6 separate regions of the Homo sapiens genome follow, and all the other regions are linked to region 3. Evidence: promoter capture Hi-C in 16 types of primary human blood cells and fetal thymus (Javierre and others, 2016). All regions are on one chromosome and are shown on one strand. Each heading gives the region's core, a stretch centred on a gene start or on the middle of the fragment in contact. The rest is flanking DNA. Distances are from core to core; before and after follow the strand shown.

Region 1 (4,429 bases), core at 1,480-3,979, 4.4 Mb after region 3:
AATATGGTTCTTACCCCTCTATCTACTTAAAAAAAAATCAGATCAAGTAATTAGAAATTCCTGACCTACTAAAATAAATACAGTTGACACCTGAATAACACAGGTTTAAACTACATGGGCCCACTTATATGCCAACATTTATGAGGGATTTTTGTTGTTAGGAAAATATAAAGGAAAAAATATTTACTTTGAATATTTGATAGCTTCAGAGTTTTGAGATCTACACATAAATTCATATAGTTTTATTAGATTAAATATACTTTGTAGTACAGAACTTAACATTTTATTCTTTCTAAATGGCATGTGAAAGAAATCGACCCTAATCAAAACCATGTGATTTTAAAATAACATAAGGAATATTAATTTTCTAATAAATATTAATAGAATAAATAGTAAGTGAAAATGCAAAAAAAAAAAAGAAGAAGAAAGAAAAAAGAAAATGCAGACGTCACCCAAATGAAAATCTACTTGTGAGGCTATCCTGTAATTCTTCAGTTTTTCTATTAAATAACAATGCCAACCCAATGGAAACAATCATCACAGCTTTCTCTTATTATTCTATGTTATCATTAATACATATTATGGCATCATTTTCCTAATTCTGTTCTCTTTAATCTAAGTATTGCTACCAGATTCATTTTCTGAAAAAAACTATATTCAACACATCACTAATCTTAACACATTTTAATAAACCTTTATTGCTATTCAAAATAAAATCTAAAGTTTTTAGTACGTTTTTTCCATGATCTGTTACCAATATTAGCTTTTAAAATGCTCACAATGCTCCCTTTTGTGCAAATTTTCATCTGCTAACTTATCCCCTCTCATACATTTTAACCTCAAAACACTGCTCTTTCCATTTATTTTCTGAGATAACTCATCCCAACCTAAATCTAATCTGTCCTTCAAGGCCCCACTAAAAACTACCATGCCACTTCATTCACATTGCTGAGTAGTAAAGAAATAATCTCACATGTGTGTTTCTCCATAATACTGCACTCAAGAGTACTGAAGGGATTTTATAACTTGCTAAGTATACATGTTTATGTACATCCCTTGTTTCTATTACTGGAGAACATTAGCTACTTGGGGGTAGCTCTAAATAACTGCTTCATGTTTACATCCCCCCAGTGATGCCCAACAGTTTTGTCAGCACAAGGAAAATAATTTTTGAATGAACACAGAGATGAAAATGAAGATTCTTTAGGATTTATTATGTATAACTAATACTGGAAGTGAGCTACCACTTACAAATCATCTAACAGCTTAACTATGAAGGAAATAAATGATGAATAATAGGCAATGATCTGGATACCTTTACACAACCTATTCACATATGTGTTGATAAATTTAATACTAAACACTTACTTCCTTCTCCATCATCTGTCACTCCCAATACCAATCGAAGAAGGCACTGGGCATGTTTTCTCTCTTTCAGTAGCACTTCCGCATAGCCCGGAAGACGAAGAAATAATCCAAAAGCAGCCAAAGAATGGGCAGGTATGGGAGACATGGTCTGTACTGCTGACTTGATAGGTGGAGGTTCAGCCGCAACAGTTTCTGGTGCTTCATAAACTAACTCCCCTGACTGTTCAATGGTCACCCATTCAAACTGATCGCTATCCTTCGGCTTTTCCTGAGTGGTAGATGTTACAACTGGAGCACTCACCTAAAGAAAAAGAAAAGTGTTGGCTTGGCCATTCACATTTTCAACATCAGATTCAAAGTAAAGACTTAACTTTAAATGATCTCTTTAAAATATAGGATTATAAGGATTAATAAAGCTGCTTGCTTTAAAAAACAAGCTTCCAGCCGGGCGCAGTGGCTCACGCCTGTTATCCCAGCACTTTGGGAGGCTGAGGCAGGTGGATTACTTGAGGTCAGGAACTCGAGACCAGCCTGGCCAACACGGTGAAACACCGTCTCTACTAAAAATACAGAAATTAGCCAGGTGTGGTGGTGCACACCTGTAGTCCCAGCTACTCAGGAGGCTGAGGCAGGAGAAACACTTGAACCCAGGAGGTGGAAGGCACAGTGAGCCAAGATCACACCACCGCACTCCAGCCTGGGCAACAAAACTATCTCAAAAAAATAAATAAAAATAAAAACAAGCTTCCAAACATCAAGACGCACATGACAGCAGAAGTATGGCAGTGTCTGCCAAGTGTCTCTACATTAGTTATTAATTCCACCTTTATAATTAGTTAAGTATCTATATGCAGATTCTTGAGACTATTTAAACATCTTATTTCTCACCAAACTTTTGATCAGTCTTAGCATTTTTATAATTGTGCCTGAAACAATTATTACTAAAGTGGTTAAGAAAAGGAGAACTTTCTAATTCTGTCATTCTTTCTACATTTATTAGTTGGCACCAAGCTATAAGGAAAAATATTCTCTTCTTATCCATTAATTTTTATCAGTATAGATTCTAACTTTATTACACTGTTACTATCATTATTAATTTTGATGCCTGAGGGGAATAAGATTTTGTCTCTGAGACGCCATTAAAGCAGGATCCTACTTCCTTATAACTTGTCCCCCATCGTTCTTTGAGCACTTCCTTGCTTTCTAGCACAGCAAAACATTCTAGGCTCATGTTCTACCTACTCTTCCTCAGTACTAGAATTTCTCCAAGGAGCCCTGATTTCCTTTAGTAGAAAATTTTTAAAATGACAATATGGGAGATATATATGCATATATCACTAGGGGGAGTCTGCTTCTGGGTCCTATCAGCAAACATACCTAGAAAATACATGTATGTATACATGTGTAAATATATATATATATATAGACATAATTTCTAGCATGTATTCTTCAAAACTGTCAAGGCCATGAAGGCCATGAAAGATAAATAAAGATAGCAGAATTGTTACATATGCAAGACTACAAGACAACAAAATGCAATATATGATCCTGAACTACCAGTATCCTCAAACCACGCAAAAGAAAATTGATTTTTCTTTGGCCCTAAAGAACATTAGAAGGACAGGCAAAAGCTGAATAAGATTTGCAGTTTATAGTACAGAGTCAGTGTGAACTTCTGATTTGTATAACTGTATATGGTTATCCAAGAGAAGTTTTCTGAACTTAGGAATAAAGGAGCATCATGTCTATAATTTAATCTTAATAATTCAAAGAAAAACTCCAATTCTGAGCATGGTTGCCCTACAAACTTCTCATTGCATTTAGAAATACTCTACTTATCTTGCTTGACCATGAATAATGCACTTCACTAAATACTAATTTGAAGTTCCACACTCAAACATATAATTAAATGAATAGTGAGCTAATCACAGAGTTATCTCACTATTCACTTCAAACATCAGGATGATTCCTAAGCTTCCTGTATGACTTTAGTAGACTGATAGGTAACTCTGTGGGGTGATTTTTAAATGAATGGTGAGGTAACTCTGTGATTAGTTCACTATTTCTTCCTTCTTTTACATATATATGTAGAAGTCTTAAGCTGATCTACAGCTTAGATCAGTCTTAAGTTGATCTACGGCTACACTACATGCATCTGTACACTGAATAAAACAGGTGCAATTTTGATGCCAGCTTATTTTCACTACTGAAGCTTAGGCCAGAATGACAATATGAAATAGCCTAATTGTAAGAACATAGGAATTTGAGGCACTTTTCACTTCTAAACCATTTTGAAACCCTTTATAGGCAAATTTTTAAAGATCCTCTATATTTATTATTTTATGCTGCACAGAAGATAGTTTCATATAAAAGTACCTATATAATAGAACATTGTTACAGAAGCAGAACTTTACCTCATCATAATTGTTTTCTTAAAGGACTATTCTCATATGATGCCACAAAACAAAACAAATACAATGAAAGCAAAAAGACAGCAAAATCAAAGAGCTCTCAATTTATAGCATTCAAATTCTTTAACAAGTGAAAGACCCTCAACTTCACGAAAATCAGAAGAGCAAATTAAAACCACTATCATATATTTCCCATCACCCATTATACAGATACAAATTTTTAAGTCTTATATTAGATATGTATACAATTCTTCACAACTTTTTTCATTATAGCTAACAACTGGAAATAAAAATGCTAGTCAACATTAAGACTAATACACACAATAAGGTATAGTTAAATATACAGCAAGTATGCTAGAGCTATACAAATGAGACCACCACAGGCTTAGGCATCAACAAAGATTAATTTCAAAATACAGGTTCAGCAAAAGCACCAAACAGTAGAATATAAACTGATATTTACATAAATGTCACAAGTATAACGATTCAAACAGAACTGTTTTAGGGTATTAATATTAAGTGGATTTAATTTTTTAAAGTATTATATTCACTTGTATTATTTCACATTTTGAAAGTCAAAACTGAAAAGTATATGAAAACATGCTTTTTGCTCAATTAACAACAAAGAAATTTTATTTCTGATATACTAG
Region 2 (4,202 bases), core at 1,067-3,566, 4.3 Mb after region 3:
GCATAATTATTTTGATATTCTTATATAGTACGTATCAATGTTCATTTAAAAAATATAACTGAAGAGTATGTATTGTATGAATACATCACAATGTTTATTTATTCATCTGTGGAGGGATGTTGAAGTTGTTTCCGGTTTTTGGCTACTTCAAATAAAGCTGCCACAAACATTTGCAAACACTGTTAAAAATTATTATTAAATGTGAGCTCTGTTAATGAATATGAAAGGAGATGGAAGGGTCATGAAATGCTATTCGCAATCCTGACTTCCTTATGCTTGAGCTAATGACAAATCCAGCCTCCCTTTCACCACTTAAAAAGATAGGAGACAGAATTAGTTCAAACACATGGCTGGGTGTGGTGGCTCACTTCTGTAATCCCAGCACTTTGTGAGGCCAAGGCGGGCGGATCACCTGAGGTCAGAAGTTTGAGACCAGCCTGGCCAAGATGGTGAAACGCCGTCTCTAATAAAAAAATTAGCTGCACGTGATGACACACGCCTGTAATCCCAGCTACTAGGGAGGCTGAGGTGGGAGGATTGCTTGAACCCGGGAGGTGGAGGTTGCAATGAGCCGAGATTGCACCACTGCACTCCAGCATGGGCGACAAAGCAAGACCCAGCTGGGTGTGGTGGTGCACACCTATAATCCCAGCTACTCGGGAGGGAGGCTCAGGCATGAGAATCGCTTGAAGCCGGGAGGCAGGGGTTGCAGTGAGCTGAAATCATGCCACTGCACTCCAGCCTGGGCGACAGAGCCGAGGCTCTGTCTCAGAAAAAAAAAAGTTTTACATCTTAAGTCTCATAGGTGCTAACAGATACTAACAGAAGAGGGGAACTATTGTTTGAGTATACTGAGGACTGGGCGCGGTGGCTCACACCTGTAATCCTAGCACTTCAGGTGGCCGGGACGGGCGGATCACGAGGTCAGGAGATGGAGACCATCCTGGTTAACATGGTGAAACCCCACCTCTATTAAAAATACAAAAAAGTAGCCAGGCGTGGTGGTGGGTGCCTGTAGTCCCAGCTACTTGGGAGGCTGAGGCAGAAGAATGGCGTGAACCCGGGAGGTGGAGCTTGCAGTGAGCCGAGATCCCACCACTGCACTCCAGCCTGGGCAACAGAGCAAGACTGTCAAAAAAAAAAAAAGAAAGAAAGAAAAGAAAAATAGAAGATGGGGTGAGGTGGGGGTCACCTGCTAGAAGCAAGGGCAGGCTGATTGAAGGGAGGGGTAGTTGGTATGCTTCCGTATCTCCATAGTGTGATGCTTTTTCCCTAGCAGTTGGCAAATTGAGACCAACTGATAGAGATTAAGTTATCAAGTACTAAACATAGGGTCTAGGACATAGATACCAAAAAATGTTAGCAATTCTTAGCTAAGTATTAGGGGTTCCTCGTTTGAGGCAGACGAGGGTATAGTTTTCTCATTGCGAAATCAGAAGCCAGATGATTGAAGAGTATAGGCTTTTCCTAGAGCTGCATGAAGTCTTCTCAGGGATCTGTCCTTCCTTGGCTCACAATCTAAGGTGATCGCTTCGGCTCAGAGACTGAAATTGGTGATAACTGGAAGACTCCCAAAATACAATTGAAATGATGAATATTATTTATTTATTTCATTAGACTGACAGCTTCCTGGGGGTAGGGTCAGACTCTTACATGACATTTTATCCCAAGAATCCAGCACATTGCAGAGCAGGTACAAGTGCTCAGAACAAGTTAAGGCACTATCTTTCCTTGGTAAAGAGGCATTTACAAATGACACCTAAGGGTAGGTGAGCTTCAGGCCTTTCTAAGCTCTCCCTTGCTAAACTCCTTTGGGAGATTAACTTTGCCCTTTGGGTCAAAGGAAGTATTTGCCTTGCTTCAGGAAGTAACTGCTACCTTTGGGGTATGGAGACAACCAGGGGGAAGATTTTTTTTTTTTTTAAACCAAAACTAACATATGAGTGATTTGGGCTTGAAAAAATATTTTTTCTCATTTGTGAATTTATATCAAAAAATTCTGACAAAGTCTTATAAAAAGAGAAGAAAAAAAAAAACCCAACAGGACAAATATTTGAAAATTGGCCAGGCTTGGGAAATCTCATACTTATCTGGCAAGAAGGGCAATAACAAAAATAGCAGCTCCCAGAAAGGCGGCACAGAGGAGCTCTAGCTGGTTCCTCTAAAGATGAGAAAAGCTCCAGAGCTGGAAGGCACTCTATGGCTGCATTTGCTGACTTTGCAGACAGCAAGGTGAAAAAGGGAAGGAATAAACCAAAGAACAAAACCTATAGAAAGGCTGGGGGAAAGCAACAGCAAGGAACAGAAGTGGTAGGAATAAGAACGAGGGAAATGCCTGTCTACCTTTTGACCCAGAGGAGTACAGGGAGGTGGGGAGGGGCAGTATCCTGGGGACCCCAGCAGGCAGAAGTGTCTAACCTGAGGCCGTAGGTCTCCCAGCGGCCCAGGGCAGCCTGCAGCTGACATAATTGGACTGGGTATTCCCTCCCTGGAGAAGTGAGACGTGAATAAAACTGAAAACAATTAAAATGGTGGTGGGCTGCAGTCTCTTCCTGCACAGGAAAACAGCTAGTGCAACCTGAAGAGGGACACACATGAAGGAAGCAATGGAAAGCAGACTTTTGGTGGAGCTCATGGGAGCACTACGAGATCACATCCAGGAACTAAGGGAGAAAGAAGGCCAGAGAATGCCTCTTCTATACAGGAAATGTATAGGCTCACAGGGTTCACGTCAGCCCCTTTAGAGCTTGAAGCATCAGGAGGCTAGAAGCTGAGAGAAAGGAGGCTTGGATGGCTGCTAGAAACTGGGCAGAGTTTGAAGAGGAAAGAGAAAGCAGGATGGAGCTTCCTTTCAACATGGCTTGTATCTTCCATCCACATGTGGACTCTGGCTTGTCACCACCATACCTGCCTCTGCAGGGTGCGAGATGGGAAGCAGCTCAAGCCTGTTGCAATTCAGTTGCAGCGAAGCCTGTAACAATACCAAAAATCAATCTCAGTTAGAAAATATATAGCCTTTTTTTTGCCTTTGCATAGGGAATAACTTCAAAGGAATAAAATGCAATTAAAATCAGAAAGGAACAGATCAATAGATGACTTCACGATTTAAATTTTTTTTTTTTGAGACGGAGTCTCGCTCTGTCACCAGGCTGGAGTGCAGTGGTGCGATCTGGGCTCACTGCAACCTCTGCCTCCTGGGTTCAAGCAAATCTCCTGCCTCAGCCTCCCAAGTAGCTGGGACTACAGGCGCCTGCCACCACGCCCAGCTAATTTTTGTGTTTTTAGTAGAGATGGGGTTTCACCATGTTGGCCAGGATGGTATCGATCTCTTGACCTCATGATCCACCCACCTCAGCCTCCCAAAGTGCTGGGATTACAGGAGTGAGCCATTGCACCCGGCCGGCCCCACAATTTAAAACTTCTATGAGAAAAATTAAACAAAAATTAAAAGGCCATCTGGACAAATACACAGAAGTTTGACAAAAACTAATATTCTACTATAAGTAGCTGATACATACTAAAAGACTCTAAGAAAATACACAAAATAGGGAAAAGGTATAAACTGGTAACTGACAAAAGTAGAAATTCAAATGGGTAATATAAACAATGTTCAATGCACATTAAAACATGTTTGATGATAATAAAATATCAGATCAAAAAATTATATAATCTCCAATGCTGGCCAACGCATGACAACACTAAAAGATTTTCCAAGTGTGAATCAGTACCTCTCAGGAAAGCGGTCATTATATATCAAAACCTTTGACCTAGGAATTCTACTTCTAGGATTTATCATAAGAAAATAAAGATAAGACCATGCTCATCACAGCATTAGTTATAATCAGAAAAGCAGAGACAAAAGCAATTCCAAACTGTCCAACAGTAAGAGATGGGTTAAAAACATCCATTAATTTTCTTTTTAAGACACGGTCTTGCTGTTGCCCACAGTGGAGTGCAGTCACGTGATCTAGGCTCACTACAGCCTCCATGTCCTGGGCTCAAGCAATCCTCCCACCTCAGCCTCCCGAGTAGCTGGGACCACAGGCATGTGCCACCATGCCCAGCTAATTTTGCTATTTTTTGTAGAGACGGGGTTTTGCCATGTTGCCCAGGCTGGTCTCAAACTCCTGAGTTCAAGCAATCATTCCGCCTCAGCCTCCCAAAGTGCTGGGATTACAGGTGTGGGCCATCATGCCCAGCCT
Region 3 (4,125 bases), core at 603-3,102:
TAAAATAGTTTTTGTATATGTGTGGTAGTCCAGATTATCTATACATTTAATTACATTTTGTGTCTGCTATGAATTGACTTAAAGGAATTGTCGGATATGTCGTCTCACTCAAGGCCTCATTGTTGACAAGTCTCAATTTTTTTGGAATTTAGTTCCTTGAGCTGTAAATGAGAAGACTGGGCTGTATCTCAAAGGACACTGACAGCCAAAATAAGTTATGGCACAGGGAATTTGGCCAGGCCTGGATCAATCTTTGATGATAATAAAGAATGAATTCATAAAGCAGAAACATTAATTAAGCGAGAGAAGAGAGTTCTCCATCTTTATTTGCAACCAGAGCAGACACAATGTGTTTCCTGTCCTTTCTGCAAGTAGCCATGGGAAAGGGGGGGAGGGGAGAGAGGACAGGGACAGGATGTCTTTCCCTGACATGTCACTCAGCAGCCTAGATCTTTACATTTTTTCATGGCCATCAAGTCTGATAACCCACAAGTACGTCCTACAAAACGTAAGAATTTCAGATAACTTGTTAGGGTGACAAAATAAGTGCTTAATTTCATTTGCATTTGTTAAATTGTTTTCAGGGGCCTTCCTTTTTGCCACTGTTGTAGTGTGAATTTATAGTGACATATTGTCAGACTTCGGAGAAGGCAAATATTTACAGAGAGTAACTTGAAAGGACTTTGGTGTACCTTTGGTAGGCGGATGCTGTTGCCAGTTGGCAGGTGAATCGTGAAAGAAACTGGGAACAGGACAAGTGAAAACGGAGAGGGGCCAGGATATCTAAGACCGCGCTAGGGAGCAGAAAGGGAACTTGCTTTTTCAAGGTGGTGTAGCTTTTAAATTAAGCCTTTGTGATATTTGATTATACGCCAATCTTTGATGACAGAAACGATGTCATTTATCTTAATATTCCCAGCGCAAGAGAAAACCGATAATCAAAATATTTGTTCAATTAAGTAGAGTAAAAATCAGCGGGAATAAGATAGGAAAAATGAGACCGAAATAACAGAACATCTATTATTGGATGCTAAAACTTTTACAGGATTTACTGCAGGAGGACTGCAAAGGGAAAGAAACTTCAACGGAGCAGTTTTTCAGATGGGCTGTCAACAAACCACAATTTGGAAGCAGCAGCAGAAAGCTGCGGCGTTGTCTTAGAAAGGTGATCGGCGTTCCTTAGAAATGAAAACTGGTCAGGTAACAGGTTTGAGCCCCTCGAGTCAAAAGAGAAAGGCAAGAGCGACAGCGACCCGCAGATTGGCAGAATGGAGGAGCGTCTAGGGTGAGAGAAACTCCGAACACGAAGCCGAAGCGAGAGCACGCAGGGCAGCTGGCGGGAGAACCCCGGTCCCGCGGCCGCACCGGGTAGCTCGCTTTGAGCCTGTTCCTTCACAGAACGGCCAGGAAGCCTTAAAAGATGTGCAGCTCGGGCAGGTATCTTGGCGTGACAACTTCCGTGTGTGTGTGTGTGTGTGTGTGTGTGTGTTTTTGAATGCAACAGGGTGCGCCGCCCGCGAACTTCCGCGTGCGAGGAAGACTGGAGACCCGCCCGCCCGCGCCCAGCCGGCCCCAGAGGAAACCCGCTCTCCCCGCCCAGCCGGCCCCCTACGCGGCGAGCCGGGGCGGGGCGGGCCCGAGGCCACGCCCAAGCTGAGGCACAGCCCTACAGGCCGCCCGGGCCGCGCTAGCCCGCGCCCCGCCCCGCGACTACATTTCCCGGCAAGCCCCGGGCCGCCAGCGCGCCGCAGTTGACCCATTTCCCGGCCCGTCACGGGCTCGGCCGGCCCCCGCGCCCAGGAGGCTGCTCCCTGCTGACTGGGGTGTGGGCGGGAGCGGCGGAGGGAGGAGGAGGCGCTGCTTGCCGCCGCTGTTGCCTCCGCTGCTGGGCGCCGGGGCAGCTCCCCGGGTATCTGCGGCCGCCATGGACGAGCAGGCGGGTCCCGGCGTCTTCTTCAGCAACAACCACCCGGGCGCCGGCGGTGCCAAGGGGCTCGGGCCTCTGGCGGAGGCTGCCGCGGCCGGCGACGGGGCGGCTGCGGCGGGGGCGGCCCGAGCCCAGTACAGTCTCCCGGGGATCCTGCACTTCCTGCAGCACGAGTGGGCCCGCTTCGAGGTGGAGAGAGCCCAGTGGGAGGTGGAGCGGGCGGAGCTGCAGGTAAAGACCCTCCCGGCCTGGCCGTCTTCATCCCGCCTCTTTGCTCCCTTCCGCCCCGCCCCGGACCCTTCTCCCCCTCCCCCAGCCTTCTCGCGTCCCCTCCCCCTTTGCTGCCGCCCATCCCACCCGGAGCCCCGTCCCCTTCTTCTCTTCGCCTTTTGCCTTTCGCTGACCCCACCTCGACCCTGTTCTCACTCCCGCTCCTGGTGCGTTGTTTACCCTCCCCACGCCTGTTCGTCCGCCCCATCCCACTCTTAACTCCCAGACTCATTTCAACTCTCTGGCCATCCTGCATCTCAGGGCTGCCCTCTCGGTTTACTAATTGGGCTGGCAGTAGTTTTGAGAGACGCGGAGCAAATCGTCCGCTGCCCTGGTGTGCCCCTTCCTAGGTCTAGAGACAGTCTCCGCAGAACGTGCCGGCTTTGGCCCCTCTCTTCAAGGAAGGTGATCAAGAAGACAACAGAAGTTGTGTCAGGCCTTGAGTCGAGGCGAGAAGTTGACGTTGGGCAAAAGTGTTATTCATATATCAGATCCCTTTTTTTATATATGTAAATGTCTGTTCTCCACTTTCTTCCGACCCCCCGGCCCCCTCCCACGTTTCTTTTAGGTATTTCCAATTAATGCATTTTGAATGAAGGACCTAGATGATCGCAGTCAGAGAGAATGGTTAAGAGGTGGTTCCTGTTCTCAGAATCTGAAACTTCCCAAGGGTTAATTTTATGTTCAGTGTTTTGGGAGATTTTCTTGTGCTTTAAAAGGAACTAAAGGGACTTTGAAGTTAGTTACATTGCCTTGCATAATCTGCAAGATAAAGTATATCCAGGGAGGAGATAACTGTGGGCTCTGAAAAGAATGAAAGTGAGGCTGATACTTTACAAGCCATTCAGAATTGGTGAATAGGTTTTCAGTGGTTGTTCTTAAAACTTCCAGGGCATACACACCAATTTCAAAAGGAACTTAAAGAACTATGAATAGTTGTGCCTTTCTGTTTTACGGGCTAAGCCTGTATACTTATGAAATTTGAGTATAGTTTTAGTTGGCAAAACACTTGAGTTTAAAATGCTACCCAGTGTGTCACTTTTTTTGGTAACATGTATTTGGCGCTTAAGAAAAAAAAGAAGAGGAGAAATCTGTTAAATAGAATCATGTGCTGGAACAGGCTCTGGTGTAGTGGAAGTGGCTGTGGAAAGAGCGAACACACAAGGCTGTAGTAGACAAGGTTATAGTAAGGGCTGTGTTTGTTGCTAGCTCTGTGACCTTGAGGAAATCCTTTAACCTCTCTGGGTTTCAGTTTTATCATGTATTTTATTCAGCACCTGTGTATTGAGTGCCAGCTGTGTGTCTAGGCCCTGTGTTGAAAGAAAACCGACCAAGCTTCTGCCCTCATGGAGTTTATGTTTTAGTGGAGAGGCAAACAGTCCAGCAAATGCGCCTATAGAATATAATGGCTTATAGTGGCAACTGCTGTGAGGAAGAAATAAGTCAGAGTTCAGGAATAGCGTGTGATAGGGGCAGCTATTTTAGATGGGGTAGTCAGGGTAGGCCTCTGAGAGATGACAAATGAGCAGCTGAATGAAGTTAGGGAGTGACCAGTAGTTTCTATGATTTCCTTGTAAGTCTGTAGTTACATGTTTATATTATTTGGCAACTTTTTCATTCCTATTGTTATATTGCTGTAGTATTTAGTCGATCTAGTCTATCTGATATTTGCAAGTCTTCTTTGACCTTGTTTATATAGTCTCCAACAAATTTGAATACTTACAGATTGATCTTTATTAGCAGCGCATTCTATAAAAGGTGTGGATTTCAGGATTCAAGGAAATGTTAAAGGCAAAGTTTAACTTTAATGTTGTGCAGTTGTGGGGAATGATTTTTGTATTAGTTACTTAAAATTTAATTTCTTTTCCAGTTTTGGGAATATAGATAACTCACACTAATTTGGTTAAAAAAAAAAAAACAAAAACAAA
Region 4 (4,277 bases), core at 1,452-3,951, 4.4 Mb after region 3:
CTCCCAAGTAGCTGGGAGTACAGGTGCCCGCCACCATGCCTGGCTAATTTTTTAATTATTATTTTTATTTTTAGTAGAGAAGGGTTTTCACTGTGTTAGCCAGGATGGTCTCGATTTCCTGACCTCGTGATCCACCCACCTCAACCTCCCAAAGTGTTGGGATTACAGGCGTGAGCCACCACACCCGGCCTCCTTCCCCACTCTTTTACCTGGTACATCATTTTGGTATACATCCATCTAATCCATTTTCTATATGATGATGTTTCTCTGTGTGTACTATTATGTGGATTAGGTATTATCATCCCCACTGTGTGTATGAGAAACTAATATTTACTAAGTTGCACAAGCAGCTAAATAGGAAGTAAGAAGACCAACAGTGAAAACTTGGTACATTTAGCTTTAGTGCTTTTCCCATTATCCCATGATACTTCCTGAACTGTCCAGTATGGCAGCTACTGGCCACACGCTATCTAAATTTTAACTAAAATGTAAGAAAACTAAGAATTCAGTTCTTCAGTTGCACTAACCACATTTCAAGTGTCCCATAGCCACACAAGTCCTTAATGAATGGCACAGATACAGAGTGTTTTCATCACAACAAAAAATTCTTTTGGAAAGTAGCATCTTCAAGAGACAAATTCCTGACATTCTGTTTTATAAATACAAGCCAGGAAAGGTATGTGGATATGGGGATTCCCCAAAAGAAAAACATTTTTTTAAAAAAGCATAAGAAGTGGGTAGACCAGGTGTGGTGGCTCACGCCTGTAATCCCAGCAGTGTGGGAGGCCGAGGCAGGTGGATCACCTGAGATCAGGAGTTCAAGACCAGCCTAGCCAACATGGCAAAACCCAGTCTCTACTAAAAATACAAAAACAGCCAGGTGTGGTGGTGTGCGCCTGTAATCCCAGCTAATCGGGAGGCTGAGGCAGGTGAATCGCTTGAACCCTGGAGGCAGAGGTTGCAGTGAGCCAAGATCATGCCACTGTACTCTAGCCTGGGTAACAGAGACTCTGTTTCAAAACAAACAAACAAAAAAAGAAGTGGGAAAAGAGTAATGTCTTCATTCTCAGAAAACTGATTCTCTATTTGGAAAATACGGTAAATCCACAGAAATACTATTAGAATACTAAAGTATGTGGATGCAAAATTCACATAAATGAATACTGTTAATTTTATATAACAATCAACTGTAAAATAGAGAAACTGCACAATAGGAAATACAACAAAAATACACAAAAAAACTTATGATGAAAATATCTATGCTGCAGGACAGAGATGATAGTCTCAATAAACAGGTATATCATATTTACAATGGGCATATACAACAGAATAAAAATGTCAATTAAAAAAATATGTGAGCTGGATGCAGTGGCTCATGCCTATAATCCCAGGATTTGGAAGGCTGGGGCAGAAGCATCGCTAGAGCCCAGGAGCTCAAGACCAGCCTAGGCAATACAGAAAGACCCAATCTCTACACAAAATTTTAAAAATTAGCCAGGTGTGGTAGTGCCCGCCAGTAGTCTCAGCTACTCATGAGGCTGAAGTGGCAGGATCACTTGAGTCCAGGAGGTCGAGGCTGCAGTGAGCCATAATCACACCACTGTACTCCAAGCCTGGGCAAGATCCTGTCTGTATAAAATTTAAAAAATTAGCCGGGCATGGGAAGCTGCAGTTAGTCATGATTACACCACTGCACTCTAGCCTGGGACATAGAGTGAGACCTTATCTCAAAAAAGAACCTATTTATGTTTATTAATATGCAACTGTTTTAATTACTAAATGCCCATTATGTAGCCATAAAAAATTAGAATATGCTTTATGCTGTACTGGAGCAAATTCGCAAGTACTATAATGTCATTTTGGGGTGGGGATAGGACAGTAAGGTATAAAAATGGGTTATATGGTAAACATAACCCATAAATGTTAATAAAAAATAAATGATTATTTGGGTAAACATAAAACAAAACACAAATAACAAAAACATAAAAAGAGGGAGACTATGTGATATGGTTTGGCTGTGTCTCCACCCAAAACTCATCATGCATTGTAGTTCTCATAACCCCCATGTGTCATGGGAGGAACCCAGTGGGAGGTAACTGAATCATGGGGGTGGTTACCTCCATGCTGTCCTCATAATAGTGAGTTCTCACGAGATATGATGGTTTTATAAGGGGCTCTCACTGCGTTGCTCTGCACTTTTCCTTGCTGCTGCCATGTGAAGAAGGACATGTTTGCTTCCCCTTCTGCCATGATTGTAAGTCTCCTGAGGCCTCCCCAGCCCTGCAGAACTATAAGTCAATTAAACCTCTTTCCTTTATAATTCACCCAGTCTCAGGCAGTTCTTTATAGCAGTGTGACAATGAACTAATATGTATTTATATTTACTTGTTATACATAGATTTCCTATAAAGAAATATAAGAAATTAGTAGCACTGGTTAGTACTATCTGTAACTATTAGTACTATTAGTTAGATTAGTACTATAGGGATAACTATAGTTTATCCCTAATGAGCTGTTATTGGTAGGACAGAGGCAGGAAAACAGCTATTTATTAGATACCACCTTAAAGCTTTTGAATTTTAAAATGTGGAGAACAGAATACTTAAGAAAAACCTGATGTAATTTAATTAATAAAATATGTCTTATAGGGGAGAAGTACATGATATTGTATATTTAGGTATGTGTTGAATTTTATAAAAACTAGATACTCCATAGTGTCTAACTTCCTCTTTCTACCCAATATCAAGATAGATGGTTTCTACTTTCAAGAACTTGATGGATACAAAATATTCCACTGTAAGGTTCTAAAACATTTAATTAGTAGGAAAGCTTGAATATTTTACTTGGTTTATGAGAACTCAATTTTTCTTGCTAGCATGAGAGGGAAGATCCCTGCAGATCAGATCCCCAGTGAAACTGGTACATACTCTTTAAAAGAACACAACTATCTAAAATCTCTGGAAGTGGTCCTAACAGTATGCAGCAAATGAAGAAACGTTTATTCAAGAAAATGTACTAAAACTCAGTAAGAAAAGCAAGAGTCTGTGGTATGTGAATCAAGATGCTGCTCCTTTCTTCCCCACCCTCAGCTCAATGAGAAAGAAAAACCACTCTAGCTGGCTACAGCCAAGAACACAGGCCTCCCTCTCCCAGAGGTCCAAGTTGGAAAGCTATGCCTTAGTACAGAGCTGAAAGCCTGCCTTCCTAGCGGGGTGAGGGGCAGGATGTCAGCATTTCCCATCCTACCACAGCAACCTCCTGCTGCTAAGTTAGAAGGTACACATGGCTAAGAAGTTGACATTCAATCCCCTCTTCTAGCCAGCCCCCACTCATGGGGCAGAGAATTTGAAAAGATATTTCTCTGGAAAGGATAGGTGAATAGTCAATGAACACATGAAAATATGCTTAACATACTTAGTCATCAAAGAAATGCAAATTAAAACCACAATGAGATACCATCTCACACCCAGTAAGATTATTGTAATTTTAAAAGTCAGGTAATCCATGTAACTCAACAATTCCATCCTAGGTATATTACCAAAGGAATTCAAAGCAGAAACACCAATAGATATTTGTATGCTAATGCTCACTGCAACATTTTTGCAACTGCCAAAATGCAAAAACAAATAGACATCAACTGATGGAAAAGCAAAATGTAGTACACAGCCATAAAATGGAATGTTGTTCAGCCCGAAGAAGTTATCAACTACTGATACATTCAACATCAATAAACCCTGAAAACATTTTGCTGCATGGAAAAAGCCAATTTAAAAAGACCACATATTATATGATCCAATTTACATAAAATATTCAGAAAAGGCAACTCTATATAAGGATAGAAAGTAGATTATCAGCCGCTTAGTGCTAGAGAAGATGAGGGGATGGAAGATGATAACTAAAGGGTACAGGGTTTGTTTGTTTTTTGTTTTTTGAGACAGAGTTTCACTCTTGTTGCCCAGGCTGGAGTGCAATGGCACAGTCTCAGCTCACTGCAACCTCCGCCTCCCGGGTTCAAGCGATTCTCCTGTCTTAGCCTCCCAAGTAGCTGGGATTACAGGCGCCCACCACCACACTCGGCTCATTTTTTTATTTTTAGTAGAGACAAGGTTCACCATGTTGGCCAGGCTGGTCTCGAACTCCTGACCTCAAGTGATCCGCCCACCTGGGCCTCCCAAAGTGCTGGGATTACAGGCATGAGCAAATGTGCCTGGCCAAGGGTACAGGGTTCTTTATGAGGTGAAAAAAAAAAATTATCAAATTCACTTTGGTAACAGTTG
Region 5 (4,684 bases), core at 2,150-4,649, 3.4 Mb after region 3:
CGTCCTCTCCTACTGACTGCCCCACTGGAGTCTTGTCAGGCAGTAGTACGTTCTAAATAGTTCACTGATTCCCATGTTATGAGAAGGCAGGAGCCACTACAAATCCACAAATTCCAAGGACATAATAACACATTTCTCAGAAGAAAAGCATCTTCTCTCTCAAAAGAGTGCATTATCATTTTGAGGAGTTGGCACAGTTTAGGTTAAGTAGGCACATAATTCATTAAAGCATAAAAAAGTTGAAGAAAAAAATGCTGCATTGTGTTAGACATTCAAATGTGGTGTGAATGTTTAAGGCAGCTGATGCCCAAAATAAGCAAGTCAAGAAAAGTGGTGTGGTTTGGATTTTGCATCTAGAAGGAATTCTTTTCTCATGACTGCTAAGACTGAGCACTGTAAAGCCTGTCTTCCTCAAGGCCAATGACACTTCGGATACCAGATGATTTCATGTTTCAACTGCAGTCTGAAGAGAGGGTTGAGTTGGCCAGGATTGCAATCAGCCAAAAGAGACAGCAACAAACTGAACAGGTCACCTACATGGTAATGATAACTCCCTACTTAGGACCCTTAGGGATGAACCAAGGCATGAAGAAACCAGTGAAGCCCTAAAACACGCTCATTGCAATGAGACGTATGGTGAGGCCCTGATATGCCATGCTTACCGCTGGTCTGCCAGCCCCTGCCCCTCTGCCTCACTTGGGTCCCACCTGGAAGTCATTTTTAATTAATTTTTTTTTTTTTAACAGAGACAGAGTCTTGCTATGTTGCTCAAGCTGGCCTTGAACCCCTGGCTTCAAGTAATCGTCCTGCCTCAGCCTCCCAAAGTGCTGGGATTGCAGGTCTGAACTACCGCGCCAGACCCTAGAAGGGTTTTAAGTTGGTATTTTATATTCTTTTTTGAGAAAGAATCTAGAATCAAAGTCATCAGTAAAAGGGCATGTGCTGGCACTTGTGGGTGTGCCTTCTCACAAGAGTACCCTTAAGTAATTATTCAGCCTCTAGGTGAACACCTTCTAGACAGGAAGCTCATCATCTCTCAACGATACCTAAGTCACTTTAAGACTACTCTTAGAGTGTTAGAAAAATTCTTTCTTATACTGATCTGATGCAAAAACCAGAGCTTCCTCACTTCCAAATCATTGTTCCTTTCATTCTAGTAAACTCAGTTTCAAAGAGGTCTTCAGATATCAGGTTCCATTATAAACATAAATAATTTCTAAATAAAATGCAAAAGATTCCTCGTAGATCCCATTAAAATGATGACAATTTTTTTTCTTTCTTTCTGAGCCTGCCTGGTAGGGAACACAATTTTGTTTAAGTAGTATTTAAAAGCTTTTTTTAATTGCAGAGAAAGCCATTGTAGAATTCCTTTAAACCATAATATATAAAAATTTCATATCAGCAATCCTTCATTTAAGCTAACGATGTGAATTAGAAAGAGAATACTATTCCTGCAAAAGCTGGATTTTTTTTAAAGAAAGAAAGGGAATACTAATACTTTTAGGGAAGTCATCACTCGTTCATTCACTAATATTGAACACAATATTATATTCAATATTAGTTCAATATTGAACACAGCTTACATCAAAAGTGAGTCAAGAATGAAACCCTTTTTCTTTCAAAATTGATTTTTGTATTAGGCATGACTTTTTGTTTAGCACCTTCAACAACCCTATGAGGAAAATAATTATTCAATTATTATAAGGTAATTATGTACAATATATACAAGTTTAAACAAATTCAACTAGCTAAATTTTCCTCTTTTCACATCCTGCGTATAAATCCTTATTTGACTAGTCAAAAAAGAAGGAATATGGATTTAGATATACCTCAATCTCAAAATCTAGTTTCATACTTACAGGCATTAAGATCGCTGAAGATTATTAAGCCACTCAGCCTTAGTGTCCTCATCTGTAGAATGTGACTAATATTCACACAGCCTTATGGTGACTGCATCATAATGGGCCATATCAAGTGCCCATGGTAAGTGCAGAAAACCTACCCCCACTTCAGATGATGCAAAATAAGGAAACTGAAAAAGGTACTACTGGCCGGGCGCGGTGGCTCACGCCTGTAATCCCAGCACTTTGGGAGGCCAAGGTGGGCGGACCACAAGGTCAGGAGATCGAGACCATCCTGGCTAACATGGTGAAACCCCGTCTCTACTAAAAATACAAAAAATTAGCTGGGTGTGGTGGTGAACGCCTGTGGTCCCAGCTACTTGGGAGGCTGAGGCAGAATAATGGCGTGAACCCGGGAGGCGGAGCTTGCAGTGAGCCGAGATCGCACCACTGCACTCCAGCCTGAGCGACAGAGCAAGACTCCGTCTCATAAAAAAAAAAAAAAAAAAAGAAAGAAAAGAAAAAGGTACTACTAAGGATAGGAACATCTATCCATCAGACACAAAAATGCTTGAGAACTATAGAATAAAATCAACAGGTATCAATATGAAAACTCTTTAATTAAATGCCTACACGATTTAACAGTACGCCAACTTATGGTTAAATATAGTTTTCTAAATATGCCATCACTTTGAAAACATTTCTGATTTTTCAGTAATTTCTAAACACACCCTCAGTAACTGCCAAGATATCACAACACATCCACATCGTGAACTCAATGTTTCACCCGGGCAAATAATGTCAAAAGTAATGACAGTACAGCCAAAAAGTTTATTCACTGTCTAAACTACGTGGATTTAAAAATATTCTATTCTATTTGCTATGGAGTGAAGCTCCCCTTCTCCTTAAAATAACATGCTTAGTGTCTGGGAAGGGCTTTAGACATCAGGTAGAGAATGCATGAGGGAAAACGACCCAACTTTCTGAACATCCATAGTCTGCGGAAAGTTGGCTCATCCCTAACCCTGAAATAAAGCTACTGCAGCCACGAGGAAATCAAATGGCACGCTATCTGCCGTCTGCACTTGGCCCGCACCCGCGTCCTGAAGACGGGAGCGCAAGAATTCTCCCTTTCTACATGACCTGCAAGCTAAGGCTAGCACATGCCGGCACCCTACGAAGAGCCACCCGATCTCCTGTCTGGGATGCAGAGACTCGGTTTAACAGCCGACTCCACCCGCGTCCCGAGACTCTTCCAAGCTCCTTCCCGGCCCGCCGCGCCCCCTACATTCGCACATGCGTACACCCAATAACGAGAGCCGAGAGCGCTCCCCTTCGCGTGGTCCCCACGCCCAGCTGCCACGCAGCCGGTCCTCCTACCCTTCTCTGGGCGGCTAGCTTCACGATCCAGTAACGCGCATGTGCAAAACTGCGGGCCCTGTAATTCTTTAGTGGGCAGGGGTGGGGCGGTCAGTGGGACCAAGTTTCTTGCGCACGCTCCGGACATGCGCAGTGCGGGAGCTGAGGCGCCAGCTGTGGATTTGGAAGTTCCGGGGAAGTCGCGCATGCGCGAGTGTACGCGTTGCCGGCGAAGAGGGGAGCCTGACGACTCGGAAATTTGAATACCACAGTAGCATGGAGTGTGACCTCATGGAGACTGACATCTTGGAGTCGTTGGAAGATCTAGGGTAAGATTGTCAGGGCACGGGTCTCCCAAGCCCCACGCTGCCGGCCCCCTGGGAACACCTCCTGCGCCCCAGTCTGAGACACCTGCCTCTCCACGCCGCACCCCGTGGCTCCTGGCTGTCGCTTCCCTTTGGCCCCGGCACCCCCAATGCCACGTCCACTGTCTGCACTGCTAGCTCGGGGTCCTCCAATCCCAACACCCCTAGGCCTGCCCAGTGCTCCCTGCAGGCGAGCTACCCGCAGCGTTTGTCAGTCATGCGTGTCATTGTCTGGGCTCTGATTTTCGCCACCCCCACTCCCCGAGCTTCTCTCCTCGCTTCATCCTCCTGCCCTACCCCTTAACCCCTCAACTCTAAAGGTTGCCAAAGTTGATTCTGCTTTCCTACTTGTTCTCCAAATTTCCTACTCCCATCTTGAGCCCCTCCTCCTACCCCACCCCACTTCTCTCAAAATTTCTCCTTTGCCCAGTCATCTCTGCATGCACCCAGGCTTCGCTAAGCCACTTGTATGGGCGCTGCATCTGTTCCGCTGGCCAGCTCGCTTGTGCATCTAACCTATCACCACGTCCCTGGGAACCACCAGCAGTTTGCTTTGACTCTGTGATACTCTGCCTCGTTGAGCCCCATTAGACCAGGGTCGTCTTCACCCACGAAGAACCTGCGTATTTGTTTTGCATTGTGTCTCTCCTTCTCCTGATATTTATTCAACCATAATTCATCAGTATCTAGAAGCTGGAAATAGGGTTTGTTATCTCACTGGGTCACCCAGATCAGTGTACTCTATTAAACTTGAGAACGTGGACCCTCTTGGGCTAAATGTGGTTCCAGAAACAAATTGTATGGTTAGATACTTACCTACAGGTACGGTATCAAAACAAAGTACAGATTTAGCTAGCTGTATTTCTAAGTAACAAGTTCTTTATCAAAATTTTCTCTTAGGTTTTTCCATGACAAGGAAACCTTTGAGAGAAACCTTTCTTTAGGAAAAAACACCTTGAGGATTCCCAAAGTCTGCCTATTTGAATAATTTACTACCCTAGTAGAAATTTTTAGGAACGAAGTAGTCTTGCTTATCATCTGTCTTTGTCACAGTGAAATACTATTGTTCTTTTCTTGGAAACTTGCTCTGAATTTTTATAAATATTCCAGACTTTAGGG
Region 6 (4,539 bases), core at 1,147-3,646, 4.6 Mb after region 3:
CACCCCACCCCCACCCCCACGCTGGGCGCACAGCCCGCGGTCTGTCCCCCGCACTGCGGGACCTGAGAACAGCAGACTGCCGGCTCCTCTCCCACAAGGGAGGGCTTGGTTGCCGGCTCAGACGCTCCCCGCCCCTCGCCTCCGGCCACCAGCCTCTCCGCCCGGGGTCAACCCTTCCAGCCTTTCGCTCTCATCTAACCGGACGCAGGACCGACAGCCTCTCCAGGGCCTACCCGGGCCTCGCTTCCTCCGGTGCCAAGCTCCAAGGTCTCCTCACCTCTCGCGGAGGACCAAGCCAGACCGGACGCTCCAGGCCCGAAAGGCAACTCCCCTCCCACCACTCCCTGACTCGCCGGTCTTTCCTCCCAACTGCAGCCGCTGAAAAAGCCAAGTCCTAAGGTCCCCCTCCATCAGCTTCCGGGCCTCCCTTCACGGCTGGGCCCGAACCCCCAGCCCTGCCCTCTCGCCATCTCGCTTCCCCGAGTCGCGAGGCCGAGCCCCGGGGCTGGACGGCTTCTTTCCCCGGCTTCGCGCCCGCCCGGCGTGCGGAAGACTCACCACTGAGCGCGGAGGCCTGCAGTGTGGCCCCCGAGGTGCCGTCGATGACTTTGATGGTCCCGCGGCTAGTGACGGCCAGGATGGCGTTGAGCGCAGGGTGGTAGGACAGGCTGTGCAGCCCGTCGGCGTCGCAGTGCATGCAGCCGTCCCGCAGCACCAGCCACTCTGAGACCCCGGCCGCCCCCGCCCCCGCCGCCGAGGAGCAGCCGGGGCCCGAGGCCGCCGCAGCCGCAGCCGCCATCTTCCGGCCTGCGCTCAGCACAATCACACTGGGAAGCGGCTCAGTGACAGTCCCGGGAGGTGCAGCACCACCACCAGTCACCATCCGGGGCCAGGGGGCAAGCCGAGCGCGTTAGCCGGAAGTGAAGTCAGGCGCCCGCACGCACGCGGAACGTCGATCGCCCGGCCGGAGGGGCCAAACTCGGAGGGAGGCTGACGGGAGAGGGGGAGAAGCAGGGAGGGAGGCGGGGCCCGGGGCGCGGGCTGGAGGCCGGCGGGTGGAGCATGCGCGGGAGGGCTCGCGCGTGCCACGCGCCGCGGGTCTGGCCAGTTCCGCGTCCGCAGCGTCCCAGTTTCTTCCTGTGAGCCTGGGGAGTGGCGGCTGCCGAGTCCGCCCCGCTCCTCGCGGGGGCAGGGGGAGGGGTTGGCCTCCGTGCATTTCCGCTAGGTGGGGACCCCCGCCCTTGCGACCTGTCCGGTACGCCCGGAGGCCTTTTGCAGCGGTTCCAGCTGCGCCTTGACCGTTCCCGGTACGCACGGTGCAGCTGTTCGGCCGTGGCCGGAAGCGGACCTCTGGGTCTCGGTCACGGCTCTGGTGTGAGAATAAACAATCAGAAGCCTCTCGTTTGGATTGGAAGGAACCGAGCGACCTTCCCAAACCTGTACCTTTTACCACGCCTGCCCTCCCCATTCCCAAGGCTTTCTGTTGAACAGAAGTACCAGATACGAGGTGCTGGAAGCGCATAGTTAAGCTTAGTTTCTCTATCCACATTCCAAACAACCCGAGTTACCGGAATTAATAGGAGTGTGGGTCTGTGTGAGTGTGTGGTGGGGTGTGTTGGAGGTCTAGAAAGGACTAATCAATTTACTAATCATCCCCCCTTGGAGAATTTTTTTAAAACTTTTTATTTTGAAATAGATTACAGTTGAAAATATACTACAGACCTCTGTGGTCTTTCTCTCCAAAAGCCATAACCCCTATCTAACTATGAGAAAACCATTTGACAAACCCAAACTGTAGGACATTATTTTTATAAAATACCTAAACACTACTCAAAGATAGTACAGAGAGATCCAATTTACTCTTTACCCAGTTTCCCCCAATGGTTGCATATTACATAATTCTAGTACAATCTCAAAAGGAGGGATTTGATAGTTGTATGATGTGTGTATAGTTCAATGTCATTTTATCACATGTAGACCTACGCACCATAGTCAAGATGCAGAGTTGTATGTTCTATATGTTTTGTGATCATTAGGTTATTTTGGAAAGAACTAGTTTTCCTTAAAAACCTAATCAAAGATCTGTTGTGAGGATTAAGAATCATTTGTAAAATGTGTAGAAGAGCATCTGACAAGTATATACTACGTGCTCAATAAAAATTATAAAAGTTAATTGCCCTCTCACATTCATGCGAACTTCCTTCAGGAAATCTTCATGGATTACCTGAACTACATCTTAAACTATTAGCCATCAGGCTACATCTGAAACACTTAGAGATTTGACTGTATTCCTCTCTTCTTGGGGGTCCCTAAAATACACTGAAGTTCCTGGGCCTGCCAGAGAGTGACATTCCTTACTCATCTGTGGTTCTTTTTTTTTTTTTTTTTTGGCTTTTTTGTTTGTTTTTGTTTGTTTATTGAGACGGAGTCTCACTCCGTCGCCCAGGCTGGAGTGCAGTGGCGTGATCTCAGCTCACTACAACTTCTGCCTCTTGGATTCAAGCAATTCTCGGCCTCAGCCTCCTGAATAGCTGGGATTACAGGCACCTGCCACCACGCCTGGCTAATTTTTTTTTTTTTTTTTTTTTGTATTTTTAGTAGAGATGGGGTTTCACCATCTTGGCCAGGTTGGTATTGAACTCCTGATCTCGTGATCCACCTGCCTCGGCCTCCCAAAGTGCTGGGATTACAGGTGTGAGCCCCCGCGCCCGGCCACTCAGGCCACTCACCTGTAAGTCTGGGAACAATCAGGCCAGTTTTTCAAACGAAGACTTTATTGGCTCCATAAAGTCAACCATAGCTCCTTAATGCCATCTGGTCATGTTTGAAAATATGACATTCCAGTCAAAACCTGGTTAATACAACCAGTGCCTCCAATTATGTCTTGTTACAGGAGAACACATTTTTATAGAAATTATGCAAATAACTATATTGCCATAAAAATAGGAATACTTGGCCGGGTGCGGTGACTCATACCTGTAATCCTAGCACTTTGACTAGCCTGGCCAACATAGTGAAAGCCCATCTCTACTAAAAATAGAAAAAAATGAGCCGGGCCTGGTGGCGGGCACCTGTAGTCCCAGCTACTAGGGAGGCAGAGGCAGGAGAATCACTTGAACCCTGAAGGCGGAGGTTGCAGTGAGCAGAGATCGTGCCACTGCACTCCAGCCTGGGCGACAGAGCGACAATCTGCCTCAGAAAAAAAAAAAAAAAAGAAAATGGGACAAGTTGAGTTTACCTACTTAGTAAGGGCTAAAGCTTTTTACCAATATTTGTGGAAAATTCTTTTTACTTTTTTTTTTATTTGCCCTGTTTCAAAACAGTCTCATTTTTTTCTCTCTTTTCAGCCTCAAGTGATTGATTTGGAGGGTCCTCTCAGTCCCTTCAGAGCCCCCAGTGGAGGGTAGGGAGCCTAAAGTGCAAGTGACTGTGGGGCTGGAGTGAGAAGGGAAAGGATCTGGCAGTGGTGGACAAAGTTGGCAAAGGTTATAATCAGTAGGGATTTCTGGTTTCAGAGAAGAAGGGTTTCAGGTGACAGAATTTCCCATGGGAGAAGCAAGATCCAATAGAGAGAATACAGAGGCTTCACAGAGAGCCAGAAAGAACATCCAGCCCAGAAGGTACCTTTCAAAAGAAGCCTGGGACTGTAACACAGTTTCAGAGAATATACTTTTCTTTCCTTTTTTTTTTGAGACGAAGTCCCGCTCAGTCGCCCAGGCTGGAGTGCAGTGGCGCGATCGCGGATCACTGCAGGCTCCGCCTCCCGGGTTCACGCTATTCTCCTGCCTCAGCCTCCCGAGTAGCTGGGATTATAGGCACCAGCCACTACGCCCGGCTAATTTTTTGTATTTTTAGTAGAAATGGGGTTTCACTGTGTTAGCCAGGATGGTCTCGATCTCCTGATCTCGTGATCCACCCGCCTCGGCCTCCCAAAGTGCTGGGATTACAGGCGTGAGCCACCGCGCCCGGCGTTTTTTTTCCTTATTTTAAGAGACAGCGTCTTACCGTGTCACCTAGGCCAGAGTCAGTGGCATGATCATAGCTCACTGCAGCCTCAAACTCCTGGGCTCAAGCGATCCTCCTGCCTCAGCCTCCTAAGTAGCTGGAATTACAGGTGCAAGCCACCAAACCCAGCCAGAGTATACTGATACCTTAAGAATCCACATCTGTTCTTACCAGCTTTGGCAGACATTTGTCTTGAGCAATGGTTCAGGAATCTGATTCACCAAGGAACAATGTAGGGGGTCAGTAGATAGAAAATTACTAAGAGGAAACCTCAGGGGTAAGTGAAACTCTGGCCAAATCAATCTAACAGGATTCTTGCTGAAGACAGGCCACAGTGATCAGACATCACCTGGGAGATGGTGGAGGATGAGGAGCCTGATCAGATATGGAGGAAGAGGGGTTCTTGCTAAACTGACTTAGCTCAGTTTTCTGCTAAAACTAGACTTTACAAGGAAGTGCACGGATGGACCTAGCAGAAGATTCAGAAGTCTGACTAAAGTTTGGCCAAAGAATCTTTGTCATAGTAAAGTCTGG

The links. Contacts are between HindIII fragments. The CHiCAGO score rates a contact against its expected background, and 5 or more counts as called.
Region 1: a contact is called between a fragment that was not itself captured here and the fragment with the promoter of STRN in region 3, in 1 of 17 cell types (M2 macrophages). The highest score is 6.4, in M2 macrophages.
Region 2: a contact is called between a fragment that was not itself captured here and the fragment with the promoter of STRN in region 3, in 2 of 17 cell types (M2 macrophages and M0 macrophages). The highest score is 6.3, in M2 macrophages.
Region 4: a contact is called between a fragment that was not itself captured here and the fragment with the promoter of STRN in region 3, in 1 of 17 cell types (M0 macrophages). The highest score is 5.5, in M0 macrophages.
Region 5: a contact is called between the fragment with the promoter of FAM98A here and the fragment with the promoter of STRN in region 3, in 1 of 17 cell types (non-activated CD4 T cells). The highest score is 7.4, in non-activated CD4 T cells.
Region 6: a fragment that was not itself captured here is called in contact with the fragment with the promoter of STRN in region 3 in 1 of 17 cell types (M0 macrophages); the score reaches 5.6 in M0 macrophages.

The regions. Positions count from the first base shown.
Region 1 is chr2:32,540,481-32,544,909 of GRCh38, reverse strand. BIRC6 (baculoviral IAP repeat containing 6) reads right to left here. Exons shown (of 74, transcript NM_016252.4): 62 at 1,369-1,669. Among named protein-coding and RNA genes, the nearest start is that of MIR558, 11 kb to the right of the region's middle. The HindIII fragment of the contact is 1,230 bases long and covers 2,115-3,344 here.
Region 2 is chr2:32,620,738-32,624,939 of GRCh38, reverse strand. It overlaps LOC124905985 (a long non-coding RNA gene), which reads left to right. Exons shown (of 3, transcript XR_007086273.1): 3 at 1-177. Among named protein-coding and RNA genes, the nearest start is that of TTC27, 5.2 kb to the left of the region's middle. The HindIII fragment of the contact is 5,253 bases long and covers 1-4,202 here.
Region 3 is chr2:36,964,263-36,968,387 of GRCh38, reverse strand. It overlaps STRN (striatin), which reads left to right and starts at 1,852. Exons shown (of 18, transcript NM_003162.4): 1 at 1,852-2,158. The coding sequence starts at 1,925. RefSeq lists a silencer at 1,362-2,171. The HindIII fragment of the contact is 8,803 bases long and covers 1-3,534 here.
Region 4 is chr2:32,563,733-32,568,009 of GRCh38, reverse strand. All of the region lies in intron 65 of BIRC6 (baculoviral IAP repeat containing 6), which reads right to left. All of the region lies in intron 1 of BIRC6-AS2 (BIRC6 antisense RNA 2), which reads left to right. Among named protein-coding and RNA genes, the nearest start is that of BIRC6-AS2, 8.9 kb to the left of the region's middle. The HindIII fragment of the contact is 260 bases long and covers 2,572-2,831 here.
Region 5 is chr2:33,598,014-33,602,697 of GRCh38, reverse strand. It overlaps FAM98A (family with sequence similarity 98 member A), which reads left to right and starts at 3,399. Exons shown (of 8, transcript NM_015475.5): 1 at 3,399-3,529. The coding sequence starts at 3,477. It overlaps LOC105374455 (a long non-coding RNA gene), which reads right to left and starts at 3,353. Exons shown (of 3, transcript XR_939942.3): 1 at 1,860-3,353. It also overlaps the pseudogene ATP6V0E1P3. RefSeq lists enhancers at 2,886-3,115, 3,256-3,305, 3,336-3,405, 3,956-4,145. The HindIII fragment of the contact is 3,614 bases long and covers 1,335-4,684 here.
Region 6 is chr2:32,353,506-32,358,044 of GRCh38, reverse strand. BIRC6 (baculoviral IAP repeat containing 6) reads right to left here and starts at 1,022. Exons shown (of 74, transcript NM_016252.4): 1 at 559-1,022. The coding sequence starts at 883. RefSeq lists enhancers at 1-324, 839-1,351 and silencers at 576-805, 966-1,335. The HindIII fragment of the contact is 1,729 bases long and covers 1,532-3,260 here.